Linked DNA regions of Homo sapiens: all the other regions are linked to region 2. Evidence: promoter capture Hi-C in human tissues and cell types (Jung and others, 2019). All regions are on one chromosome and are shown on one strand. Each heading gives the region's core, a stretch centred on a gene start or on the middle of the fragment in contact. The rest is flanking DNA. Distances are from core to core; before and after follow the strand shown. Region 1 overlaps ZBTB7A (zinc finger and BTB domain containing 7A). Region 2 holds the start of CREB3L3 (cAMP responsive element binding protein 3 like 3). Region 3 overlaps PIAS4 (protein inhibitor of activated STAT 4). Region 4 holds the start of SHD (Src homology 2 domain containing transforming protein D).

Region 1 (2,888 bases), core at 46-2,545, 100 kb before region 2:
TATATCTGTATATATATATATAGATATAGATATCTGTATATAGATAGATTTTCTTTTTTTGTGTTTTTGGGGGGGTGGTGGGTGATTTTTTTTCTCTCTCTCTGTCTCTCTCTTTCTCGGGTTTCTGTTTTCTCTTTTTGGTTTTTAGGCGAGTCCGGCTGTGAAGTTACCGTCGGTGGCGGCCCCGGGGCCACCTCCGCTGTCACCTCCTCCACCGGCGCCCGCTACATTCAACCGGCCCAAGCCGTCGGGGCTGGCCACGTCCTCGTCCTCGTCCTCGTCCTTAAAGTGCTTCTCCTGGCCGTTGCGCCGGGCGTCGGGGGAGCTGGGCTGGGCGGGGGCGCCGGGGGTCGCGGTGGCCCCCGGGCTGGGGTCGGGCGCCCCGCCCCGGACGCGGGGCTTGCGGCCGCGGCGCGAGGGGACGCCGTTGCAGCCGTCTTTCTTGAGGTGTCTGTGCAGGTGGTCGGAGCGGACGAAGGTCTTGCAGCAGCTGTCGCACTGGTAGGGGCGCAGGCCCGTGTGCACGCGCATGTGGTTCTTCAGGTCGTAGTTGTGGGCAAAGGCGGCGCCGCACTGCTGGCACAGGTACGGCTTCTCGCCCGTGTGCTTCCGCATGTGCACCTTCAGCTTGTCCTGCCTGTGGACGGGGCACGGGGCGGGCACGGTCAGTGGGGCCGGGGACCCCCGATCCCCGCCCAGGGACCCTCACGGACACGGCAGGCCCTGGATCATCACCCTTGCAGAACACGGACCGTGCACCAGAGGTTTCGGTGCCCCGATGGGGACGGTCCCTCGAAAAACGAGACGAGTGGGGGCGATTTCGCATTCTGAACATCTAAAGAGGGCCTCGGACCCTGAGTGCTGTGTGGCCTTGGGAAAACGCTATGCCTCTCTGAACCCCGTTTCCTTTCCTTTTTTAACTTTTTAAGAGACAAAGTCTAGGCCAGGCGCGGAGGCTCAGGCCTGAAATCCCAGCACTTTGGGAGGCCGAGGCGGGCGGATCACTTGAGGCCAGGAGTTCGAGACCAGCCTGATCGACACGGTGAAACCCTGTCTCTACTAAAAAAACAAAAAACAAAAAAACAAAAAACAAAAATCAGCCGGGCATGGTAGCAGGCGCCCGTAATGCCAGCTATTAGGAAGGCTGAGGCAGGAGGATCACTTGTATCTGGGAGGTGGAGGTTGCAGTGAAACTCCGTCTCAAAAAAAAAAATTTCACTTTTTAAGAGCGAAACTCCGTCTCAAAAAACAAATCTGCCAGGCGTGGTGGCGCAGGCCTATAATCCCAGCTACTTGGGAGGTGGAGGTTGCAGTGAGCCCAGATCACGCCACTGCCCTCCAACCTCGGTGACAGAATGAGACTGTCTCCAAAAAAAAAAAAAAAGAGAGGCAGGGTCTGGCTTTGTCCCCCAGGCTGGAGGGCAGTGGCGTGATCACGGTTCCCTGCAGCCTCGAACTCCTGGGCTCAAGCCATCGTCCTGCCTCATCCTCCAGAGTAGCACACGCACCACCACACCCTATTAAATAGCTATTAAACTATATGTGTGTGTGTGTGTGTGTGTATATATATATATATATATATATATATATATATATATATATGTAAGTTTGAGAGATGGGGGTTGAGCTACGTTACCCAGGCTAATCTCAAACTCCTGGGCTCAAGTGATCCTCTTGCCTCGGCCTCTCAAAGCTCTAGGATTACAGGTGTGAGCCACTGCGCCCGCCATGAACCCCTTTCCCTACCACAGAAGGAGACAGTGGGCTTCTGCCACTCCATCCTGCCCCTACCCCTGGGGTAGGATGAGGCCAGCCAGTGCCTGGTGCCTTCATTCATGCCACAGACCTTTGCCGAGCGCCCGCTGAGGGCCAGGCCCTGTTCCAGGTGCTGAAAATACCGCAAGGAACAAGACAGGCAAACATCCCTGCCCTCTCGAGGCTGGCGGCGGCCGAGGTGTTTGGTGACAGATAGGGTGACCAACTGTTCTGGTTTTAGCACTGAAAGTCCTGCATCCTGGGAAACCCCTCTGTCCGGGACAAAGTGGGGCAGTTGGTCACCCTAGTAACCAAGTCCCCACCCCACGACACCCAGGACTGCCCACTCTCCCCTCACTTCAGCGTCACTCCCCTATCTGGGCTCCACCCTGACGTGCAAAGGTGCAAAGCACAAGCTACGCTGGGGCCTTTGCATGTGCTGCTCCCGCAGTCCGGGGTACTTTCTTTTTTCCTCCTGGATCTTCACAGTCAAATTTGGGCTCAAATGTCACCTCCTTCCCCAGCCCTGTCTCCATCCTCCTGTCATCACCACCTGACTCTTCTATTGTTTTTTTTTCTGAGACCGAGTCTCGCTCTATCTTCCAGGCTTGAGCGCAGTGGTGTGGTCTCCGCTCACTGCAACTTCCGTCTCCCGGGTTCAAGCAATTCTTCTGCCTCAGCCTCCCAAGTAGCTGGGATTACAGGCCCTCTGCCACCACACCTGGCTCATTTTTGTATTTTTAGTAGAGACGGGGTTTCACCATGTTGGCCGGGCTGGTCTCGGACTCCTGACCTCAGGTGATCCACCCGCCTCGGCCTCCCCAAACGCTGGGATTACAGGCGTGCGCCACCACACCTGGCTGATTTTTGTATTTTTAATGGAGACAGGGTTTTCACCATGTTGGCTGGGCTGGTCTTGAACTCCTGACCTCAAGTGATCCGCCTGCCTCGGCCTCCCAAAGTGCTGGGATTACAGGCGTGAGCCACCGCGCCCGGCCGGTCTCTCTTGTTTCTGTTGATTTCCTTGTTTCTCCTCTGTCTCCCTGATTGGATTGTGAGCCCCGAGAAGGCAGGGGTTGGGTGTGACTTGAGGGCCCCTCCCTGCCTGTCTCGCCCCATGGGGGCAGCGTGGA
Region 2 (2,874 bases), core at 98-2,597:
TCCAGCACTTTGGGAGGCTGAAGCAGGTGGATCATTTGAGCCCAGGAGTTTGAGACCATACTGGCCAACACAGTAAGACCCCATCTCTATAAAAAAAAAAAAACAAAATTAGCCAGGTGTGGTGGTGCACGCCTGCAGTCCTAGCTACTTGGGAGGCTGAGACGGGAGGATCACTTGAACCCAGGAGTTGGAGGCTGCAGTGAGCTATGATCCTGCCACTGCACTCCAGCCTGGGCAATAGAGTGAGACCCTGTCCTCCACCAACACCAAAAAAAAAAACAAAAAAACAAAACAGGGCTCCTCTCTCTTGGTAGGGGGTGGAGGGGAGGTCAGAGACACCTCTCAGCCACCCGGGCTGATTCACAAATATCGAACATTCACTAAAATGTCAATACAGTGACCTAGAGCCAGAGGGGAAGAGGGAGGGTACAAGAGGAGAGTTCCAGGCAGAGGGGCGAGCAGGTGAGTAGGTGCAAAGGCCCTAAGCAGGAACCAGTTTGGCTCCATAAATATTTGTTGACTCAATGAACGATAGAAGATTCTAGAGAGAATTGATTGCACAGAATCACCCATGGGGACTCAGAGGCGGAGTCCAAGCTGGTTTCGGAGGGGGCTGGGGGCCGGAGGTTGGCAGGTGGGGTGAAGGATGGGAGCCGCTAGCTGCTGGCAGGAAAACTGGCTTCAGTGAAGATCTGGTCTGGTCCTCTTGGTTTGTTTCTGTCCAGGGAGTGGACAGGACCCATGTAAGGGCCCTGGGCTATCCCAGAACCCATCTGGGAATTCTGAAGAGAAAAAGTCCTGTAACTGGCCGGGTGCGGTGGCTCACGCCTGTAATCCCCGCACTTTGGGAGACTGAGGGGCCGATCACGAGGTCAGGAGTTCGAGACCAGCCTGGAAAACATGATGAAACCTCGTCTCTACTAAAAATACAAAAGTTAGCCGGGCATGGTGATGGGGACCTGTAGTCCCAGCTACTCGGGAGGCTGAGGCAGGAGAATCACTTGAACCCAAGAGGCAGAGGTTGCAGTGAGCCGAAATGAGATGGCACCACTGCACTCCAGCTTGGGCCACAGAGCGAGACTCCGTCTCAAAAAAGAAAGAAAAAAAGAAAAAGTCCTCATAAGTAGGGCAGAGGTCACGGCAGAGTGGAGGTACCCCAGACTTCGACCTTTGCTCACTGAGGGCTGGAAAACCACAAAACACCCAGATAACGGTCTTCCCTCCCCTGCTCCTGCCTGCCCCAGTGTCACTGGCCCTCAACCCTGTCTCTCCACCCTGTCCACCAATCAGCACCTGGAGGTGGGCTGGGAGCTGCCTGTGACCGCTTCAGCATCTTTTGGGAGTGGTGACAGAGCCACAGAGGGCTGTGAGCTTGCCCGGCCCCAGGTAACGCTGGCGGTGGGTGGGCCTCCAGCTTGGAGCAGAGACCCCCCGAGGCATCTGCAGACAGAACTGGATGGACCCATGAATACGGATTTAGCTGCTGGAAAGGTGAGCCCTACTAGGTCCCCAGGGAGAGCGGGAGTCTAGGCTGGGAAAGCCTACCCAAGCTGCCAGAGCTGGAAGGACCCCATCTCCACCCCTATTGTACAGATGGGAAGACTGAGGCCCAGAGAAAGGATGCAATGAGCAAAACTGTGTGCCTTTGCCCCGGGGCTGCCCTTGTCTTTCTTCCAGGTCCCCCTGCCTCCTAGGAGCGGGCACTTGGGGAGGCTGTGAAGGCCTGAGAGGCAAGCGGCATCTCTAGCTAGGGCCTCTCTCCAGCACTTTTTATTTTATTTTATTTTATTTTTATTTTTATTTTTTGAGATGGAGTCTCCCTCTGTCACCCAGGCTAGAGTGCAATGGCACGATCTCAGCTCACTGCAACTTCCACCTCCTGGGTTCAAGAGATCTTCCTGCCTCAGCCTCCCAAGTAGTTGGGATTACAGGTGTGCACCACCACGCCCGGCTAATTTTTGTACTTTTCCTAGAGACAGGGTTTCACCATGTTGGCTAGGCTGGTCTCAAACTCCTGACTTCAGGTGAGCTGCCCGCCTCGGCTTCCCAGAGTGCTGGGATTACAGATGTGAGCCACCGTGCCTGCCATACTTTTTTGTTTTTTGAAACAAGGTCTTGCTCTGTGACCCAGGGTGGAGTGCAGTGGGGTGGCCATAGCTCACTGCAGCCTCAACCTCCTGGGTTCAAGGGATCCTCCTACCTCAGCCTCCCCAGTAGCTGGGACGACAAGTGTGTGCCACCGCAGCCAGCTAATTTTTTTAAATTATTTGCAGTAGGGATAGGGGTCTCTATGTTGCGCAGGCTGGTCTTGAACTCCTGGGCTCAAGTGATCCTCCTGCCCCGGCCTCCCAAAGTGCTGAGATTACAGGCATGAGCCACCACATCCAGCCTCTCCAGCACTTTAAGAGAAATTGGCTCTCACACTGTGGAATTCTCTCTATCAGCCTCAAAGTCCAGATTTGGAAAGGGAGTCTCAGCGAGGGGCAGCAGCTGGCCCAACCCGGAGGCAGAGCGGCAACTGAACTCTAGCCGGAAAGAGCCAGGGTTATGTGCACATGGGAGGTGGGGAGGACAGGGGCTGTATGTGACCCTCACATCTGTTCCTCGCGCCCCAGATGGCTTCTGCTGCCTGCTCCATGGACCCCATCGACAGCTTTGAGCTCCTGGATCTCCTGTTTGACCGGCAGGACGGCATCCTGAGACACGTGGAGCTGGGCGAGGGCTGGGGTCACGTCAAGGACCAGGTGAGGAGTCCACTGCAGTTGCCCCGGGACCACAGAGCTCCAGGCGGGCCAACTGAGGCCCCACGAAGGTGCTAGACCCGCCAGAGCCCAGCCAGAGCTCTGCTCAGCTCTACGATGCACTAATGGGTCA
Region 3 (3,127 bases), core at 79-2,578, 130 kb before region 2:
AGTCAGGTTTTTTCCCAGTTATATAATGAATACGGGGTTTCCCCCTCCATACCGTGGATAGTGAGGTGGGATGGTTCCCTCGGTGGGGCCGTCCTGGGCACTGCAGGCTGCTGAGCAGCATCCCTGGCCTCCACCTGCTCTGTGCCAGGAACACCCCTAACTCTGACAACCACAGATGTCCCCAGACACAGCTCGGTGTCGCCTGGGGCAGGGTCGTCCTCAGATGAGGACGGTTGAACTGTGGCAGGTGAGGGGCCAGTGTGGCTGCCCTGCGCTCTGCTCCTCCCTCAGTCTCTCCGAGGCTGTACTGCCTCCAGCTGAGACAGATTCCTGCTGGGCAGGCTAATGGTAGGTGCTGGGCCCTTAGGACAGGGGAGGCCATTTGCCCAGGTCACCCCTGAGTCCATGGCAGGGCTGGGCCGGGCGCCCCCATTTAATGCCTAGCTTCTCGTGCCCAGCCGCTTCAGACCCACCGCCCCCACCTGCTGTGGGGCCAGGTTCCTGGGGCCTCCCAGCCTGGCCCTCACACCTAGTAAGGGTTCAGATCCAGCCGAGCCAGGCTTGGCCATGGAGGCCTCTCTGCCTGGGTGACCCAAGGTGGCGACCTCGTCTTTCTCAGCCTCGTCTTCCTTGTCTATGTACCTGGGTCAGCACAGCCTCCACCTGCACTGGGTCCCTGCTGCAGAGTGCTCAGAGCCAGCCACACAGTATAAAAAAATCAGTTTGGGCTGGGCACGGTGGCTCACAACTGTAATCGCAGCCCTTTGGGAGGCCAAGGCAGGTGGATCACGAGGTCAGAAGATCGAGACCATCTTGGCTAACACAGTGAAACCCCGTCTCTACCAAACATACAAAAAAATTAGCCGGGTGTGGTGACGGGCGCCTGTAGTCCCAGCTACTCGGGAGGCTGAGGCAGGAGAATGGCGTGAACCCGGGAGGCGGAGCTTGCAGTGAGCCGAGATCCTGCCACTGCACTCCAGCCTGGGCAACAAAGGGAGACTCCGTCTCAAAAAAAAAAAAAAAAAAAAGTTTGGTTTTCTCCTCAGAAAGCTTCTGGACATTTCTTTTTCTTTTTCTTTTTTTTTTTTGAAATGAAGTCGCTCTGTCGCCAGGCTGGAGTGCAGTGGCGTGATGTCGGCTCACTGCAACTTCTGCCTCCCAGGTTCAAGCGATTCTCCTGACTCAGCCTCCCGAGTAGCTGGGACTACAGGTGCGCACCACCACGCCTGGCTAATTTTTGTATTTTTAGTAGAGACAGGGTTTCACCATGTTGGCCAAGATGATCTCAATCTCTTGACCTCGTGATCCACCCCACATCTGCCTCCCAAAGTGCTGGGATTACAGGCGTGAGCCACCCTGCCCATCCCACATTTCTTTTTCTTATGTCGAGATATGATTTGCATACCATAGAATATACAGTTTTTAAGGGTGTCATCGAGTGGGTTCTCGTGGATCAGTAGGTATCGCAGCTCCCACCACTGCCTAGTCTCAGGGCAGTCATGTCCATCCCCAGCAGCTGCCACCCTTCATCCACTGGCCCCCACGCATCCCCTCCTGTCTGTAAATGGGTCTGTCCTGGACATTTCATAGAAGTGGAATCACATACTATGTGGCTTTCGTTTATTATTATTATTTAAGACAGAATCTCACTCTGTCGCCCAGGCTGGAGTGCAGTGTCGCGATCTCAGTTCACTGCAATCTCCGCCTCCCAGGTTCAAGTGATTCTCTTGCCCCAGACTTCTGACTAGCTAGGATTACAGGCGTGCACCACCACACTCAGCTAATATTTGTATTTTTTTTGAGACAGAGTCACACTCCGAGGCCCAGGCTGGAGTGCAGTGGCACGATCTTGGCTCACTGCAAGCTCTGCCTCCTGGGTTCACGCCATTCTCCTGCCTCAGCCTCCCAAGTAGCTGGGACTACAGGCACCCGCCACCACGCCTGGCTGATTTTTTTTTTTGTATTTTTAGTAGAGACGGGGTTTCACCATGATAGCCAGGAGGGTCTCGATCTCCTGACCTTGTTATCCGCCCGCCTCGGCCTCCCAAAGTGCTGGGATTACAGGCGTGAGCCACTGCACCTGGCCTAATTTTTGTATTTTTAGTAGAGACGAGGTTTCACCATATTGCCCAGGCTTGTCTCGAACTCCTGACCTCAAGTGACCCACCCACCTCCGCCTCCCAAAGTGCCAGGGTTACTGGCGTGAGCCACCTGCCTTGTGTGTCCTTTCGTGTCTGGCGTCTCTCACTGGGTGGGACATCCTCACGGTGCACCTGTGCTGAGGCCTGGGTCTGAGCCTGGCTCCTTTCCATGGCTGGGTCGCGTCCCGTGCGTGTTGGTCCTTCGGTCTACGGAAGGACACTCAGGATGCTGCTAGTTTGTGGCTGTTGTGGTCAGTTCTGCTGTGAACATCCACGGATGCGTCTTTGGGTAGATAGACTTTTTCCTCTTCTTCTGGGGGCGTTTCTTGTTAAAGTTTATCCTCAGGTGTTACTGGTTTTTGTTTTTTTTTTTTTGGAGAGTGTTTCTCTTTGTTACCCAGGCTGGAGTGCAGTGGTGCAATCATAGCTTGCAGCCTGTGCCTCCATGGGTTCAGACGATCCCCCTGCCTCAGCCTCCAAGCAGCTGGGACCACAGGTGTGCACCACCACGCCTGGGTAATTTTTTGTGGAGACAGTTTCACCATGTTGCGCAGGCTCGTCTCAAATTCCTGGGCTCAAGAGCTCCGCCAGCCTTGACCTCCCAAACTGGGTGTTTTCTTGCCATTGTGAGCCAGCTGCTAGATTCCCGCATGCACGTTTTAGCTATGTTTCTTCGCAGGGAGAGGCACCTGGCTGCCCTCTCTGGTTCAGGGTTTTGCTGTGGATTCTGTTGCATTTTCCAGGGAGGCCAGCCCCTCTCCTGACCTCACAGCCACTCCTCTCACCCAGCCCGTACAAAAGAGTCCTGGGCCTCAGTTTCCCAGCTCTGGGGGAGGGAGCCTTGTGGTGTGGCGGTCTCCACCTTGTCGGGTGGGCTGGGGTCACGCCCTCCTCACTCAGCTCTCCTTTCCTTTCCTCTGGTTTGCTCCACACCCACAGGGAACTGCAGCCCGGAGTTAAAGCCGTGCAGGTCGTCCTGAGGTATG
Region 4 (3,159 bases), core at 263-2,762, 130 kb after region 2:
CCAATGTGGTGAAACCCCATCTCTACTAAAAATATAAAATTATATAAAAATTAGCTGGGCGTGGTGGCAGTAATCCCAGCTACTCAGGAGGCTGAGGCAGGAGAATTGGTTGGACCTGGGAGGTGGAGGTTTCAGTGAGCTGAGATCGCAACACGGCACTCCAGCCTGGAGGACAGAGCAAGGCTCCGTCTCAAAAAAATAAAAAGAGAGACTCCAGTGCCACCCTAGGCCAGGCCCCACGGCGATGTGCAGGCAGAATCAGCTGTGGAGTGGCTCTGAACAAGTCCCTCCCATCTCTGTGCCTCGGTTTCCCCATCCATAAAATGAGGAAGCCAGGTGATAGCTCGGTCCCTCCTGGAATCCTTCCTAGAGCTGTCTGGGATTTCCTGTTAGAAACCACATCTTTCAAATAAGGAAAACCAAGACTCAGGGAGTGACAGACCCTGCCCTCAGCCCCGCCGGGCTGCCAGGAGGCCCCAGTCATAGCAGTGTTGGTTCTGACTTCTGTCTTGTCCTCCAACTGTGCTCTCCAAGCTATGACCTGTGCCTGACCAGGGGGCTGGCCACAAGAGGAGAGAATCTGGGGTCCCATCCTTCCTGACCACCCCTCTCTCACTCCCCTCATTAGGAGGAACTGGGCAAGCCCCCTTATGGGGAAAGAAAAAAAACGGTTCTGCACTGGAAAATTGGCCAGTGGCTCCCTTTTCCTCTCCCACCCCCCAAACCTCTCAGTGCCCTCACCCTCAGACAACGACAGCTGACAACAGGCAGCCAGTTCAGGCCAGACCCCTCTCACTTCTGCCCCTCTTCCCGCCACCGCTCCCCCCCACCCCGCCCCCAGAAGCCACAAAAGGACAGATGCAGAGGACAGGCGCCAGGCACAGATACCATCTCCCTTCCCCAAGCCAGCTGCCCCCAACCCTCCCCCTGCCCGCAATTAGTCCTCTGGGGCGGGAGCGGGGCACAGAGCAGAGCCCTCTTGGGGGAGGGGAAGCCCGATCCGCACCCACCCTTCCTTTGCCCCCCTCTTCCTTCTGCTGCTCCAATATCAATTTCAGCCAGTGACCTCTCCACCAATTTGCACATCCCCACTCTCCCGGTCCGTTTCACCGCCAGACATCGGTTCCATTTCGACCCTCACTGGCGGTCATTCCCACCCCCTCTGCTGGTCAATTTCACCCCTTTTGGCGGTCAAGTGCAGTCCCCCATTTCCCGGGCAATTTCCCCCTCCCCTCCTTCTCCCTCTCCCCTCCCCTCCCCAGCAGTGTCACTCCCAGCTGCTCCCCACCTCCCGCGCTCCGCGCTCGCTGCGGCCAGTCTCGGGCGTCCCGGTCAGTGTCCAGCTGCCGCGGCCTCGGCCCCGGCGACTCCCGCCCCCAGCCCCCCTTCCCTCCGCGGGCAGCGGCTCCCTCCCTCCCCAGAACAGCTGAAGGTCTCAGTCACCTCCGAGGGGAGCGCAGGGGGAGGGGAGGGGCGGGGGACGCGGCGGAGGGGAGGTGGGGGAGCCTTGACGCTGCTGCCCGGGACGCGGCCCGGGGCTGGTGGGAACAGGGGCGTCCTCCTGCGCGCCCCCCTCCCCAGCGTCCCACCTCCCGGCGGCGGCGGGGAAAGTCTCTCCGAAAGCGTGAAGGGGGATTGGAGGAGGTTTTTATTTCCCTTTGTGCGGGTGGCTGGGGCCGGATCGAGGCGGCGGGGGCCGCGGGACTGGGGGCTCCCCGCTGAGCCGAGAGGAGCGCGACAAAGGATGCGTCCCGCCGGGGTCACAGTCTCCGCGGCCCAACTTTGCGCGCGGCGCCCGCGCCCCTGGGGAGCCCGCCCGCTGCGCTGAGAACCCAGGCGTCCGGGCTGGGAGAGGGGCCGGGAGCGTCCGCAGGTGGCGCTGGCCCGGATCTCCCGACCCCAGGAAGGGATCCCGGAGCTTCCTGGAGGCGGCGGGCGGCCGTGTCGCTCCAGGGAACCGCGCTGCCCGCGGAAACTCCGCGCGCCTCCGCGGATGCCCCTCGCCCTAGCCCCCAGCGCGCGGGGTTCGGGGCCCTGCGAGGTCCCCCCTTCCCCCGCGGTGCTTCCCAAGCTGGGCTAAGGCGGGCTTCTCTTCCTCCCTCCTCTGTCGCCTCCTTTTCCTCCCCCTCGTTCACCTTTTCCTTCCCTCTATCCATCCAGAGCCCCGCCAAAGGGCGCACCTGATCTTTCTCATCCTTCCCTGCTCTTCCCTTCCTCTCCACCTCCTCCTCCTCCTTGGGGAAAGGGGCCCGGAGAAGGGCATGTGGGGGCCCCTCTGACAGTGGCCCGATTGGGGTGACAGGCGCCCAAATGGCCAAGTGGCTACGGGACTACCTGAGCTTTGGGGGTCGGAGGCCCCCTCCGCAGCCGCCCACCCCGGACTACACCGAGAGCGACATCCTGAGGGCCTACCGCGCGCAGAAGAACCTGGACTTCGAGGACCCCTATGAGGACGCGGAGAGCCGCTTGGAGCCGGACCCCGCGGGCCCTGGGGACTCCAAGAACCCCGGAGATGCCAAGTATGGTTCTCCCAAGCACCGGCTCATCAAGGTGGAGGCTGCGGATATGGCCAGAGCCAAGGCCCTTCTGGGCGGCCCCGGGGAGGAGGTGCGTGGCTGGGTGGCCTGGGGAGACTGGGTGGAGGGGAGGCTCAGGATGGGCTCTCTGGATCGTGGAGAGCTTATTTTATGTGTGATCACAGGAGGGGACTGGGGCACCAGACAGACCCTTCCCAGTCCTCCAGACCTCCACCTGCTTGGGGAAGTCTGTTCTTTTTATGTATTTATTTATTTTGAGACAGTCTCCCCCTGTCACCCAGGCTGGAGTGCAGTGGTGGGATCTCGGCTCATTGCAACCTCCACCTCCTGGGGTTCAAGCGATTCTCCTGCCTCAGCCTCTCCAGTAGCTGAGATTACAGGTGTGTGCCACCACACCCGGCTAATTTTTGTATTTTCAGTAGAGACTGGTTTCACCATGTTAGCCAGGCTGGACTCAAACTCCTGACCTCAGGTGATCCTCCCGCCTCTGCCTCCCGAAGTGCTGGGATTACAGGTGTGAGTCACTGCGCCCGGTGGATATCTGTCCCTTTTCAATGCATAATGCTGGTTGTCCTTCTGCCTCTCTGACCACCCTGCTTGGTCTCCGGGTCCTCCTCCTCCT

Evidence for each region. Contacts are between HindIII fragments. The study calls those that stand out against the background at their distance.
Region 1: a contact is called between a fragment that was not itself captured here and the fragment with the promoter of CREB3L3 in region 2, in 10 of the 25 tissues and cell types used here (IMR-90 fibroblasts, bladder, dorsolateral prefrontal cortex and 7 more).
Region 3: a contact is called between a fragment that was not itself captured here and the fragment with the promoter of CREB3L3 in region 2, in 8 of the 25 tissues and cell types used here (IMR-90 fibroblasts, adrenal gland, aorta and 5 more).
Region 4: the fragment with the promoter of SHD here is called in contact with the fragment with the promoter of CREB3L3 in region 2 in 2 of the 25 tissues and cell types used here (dorsolateral prefrontal cortex and mesenchymal stem cells).

The regions. Positions count from the first base shown.
Region 1 is chr19:4,047,608-4,050,495 of GRCh38, forward strand. ZBTB7A (zinc finger and BTB domain containing 7A) reads right to left here. Exons shown (of 3, transcript NM_015898.4): 3 at 1-637. The coding sequence ends at 145. Among named protein-coding and RNA genes, the nearest start is that of ZBTB7A, 18 kb to the right of the region's middle. The HindIII fragment of the contact is 9,621 bases long and covers 1-2,888 here.
Region 2 is chr19:4,152,284-4,155,157 of GRCh38, forward strand. CREB3L3 (cAMP responsive element binding protein 3 like 3) reads left to right here and starts at 1,348. Exons shown (of 10, transcript NM_032607.3): 1 at 1,348-1,491; 2 at 2,616-2,744. The coding sequence starts at 1,465. The HindIII fragment of the contact is 37,156 bases long and covers 1-2,874 here.
Region 3 is chr19:4,025,066-4,028,192 of GRCh38, forward strand. It overlaps PIAS4 (protein inhibitor of activated STAT 4), which reads left to right. Exons shown (of 11, transcript NM_015897.4): 4 at 3,081-3,122. Among named protein-coding and RNA genes, the nearest start is that of PIAS4, 19 kb to the left of the region's middle. The HindIII fragment of the contact is 6,301 bases long and covers 1-3,127 here.
Region 4 is chr19:4,277,754-4,280,912 of GRCh38, forward strand. It overlaps SHD (Src homology 2 domain containing transforming protein D), which reads left to right and starts at 1,513. Exons shown (of 6, transcript NM_020209.4): 1 at 1,513-2,607. The coding sequence starts at 2,311. The HindIII fragment of the contact is 14,506 bases long and covers 1-3,159 here.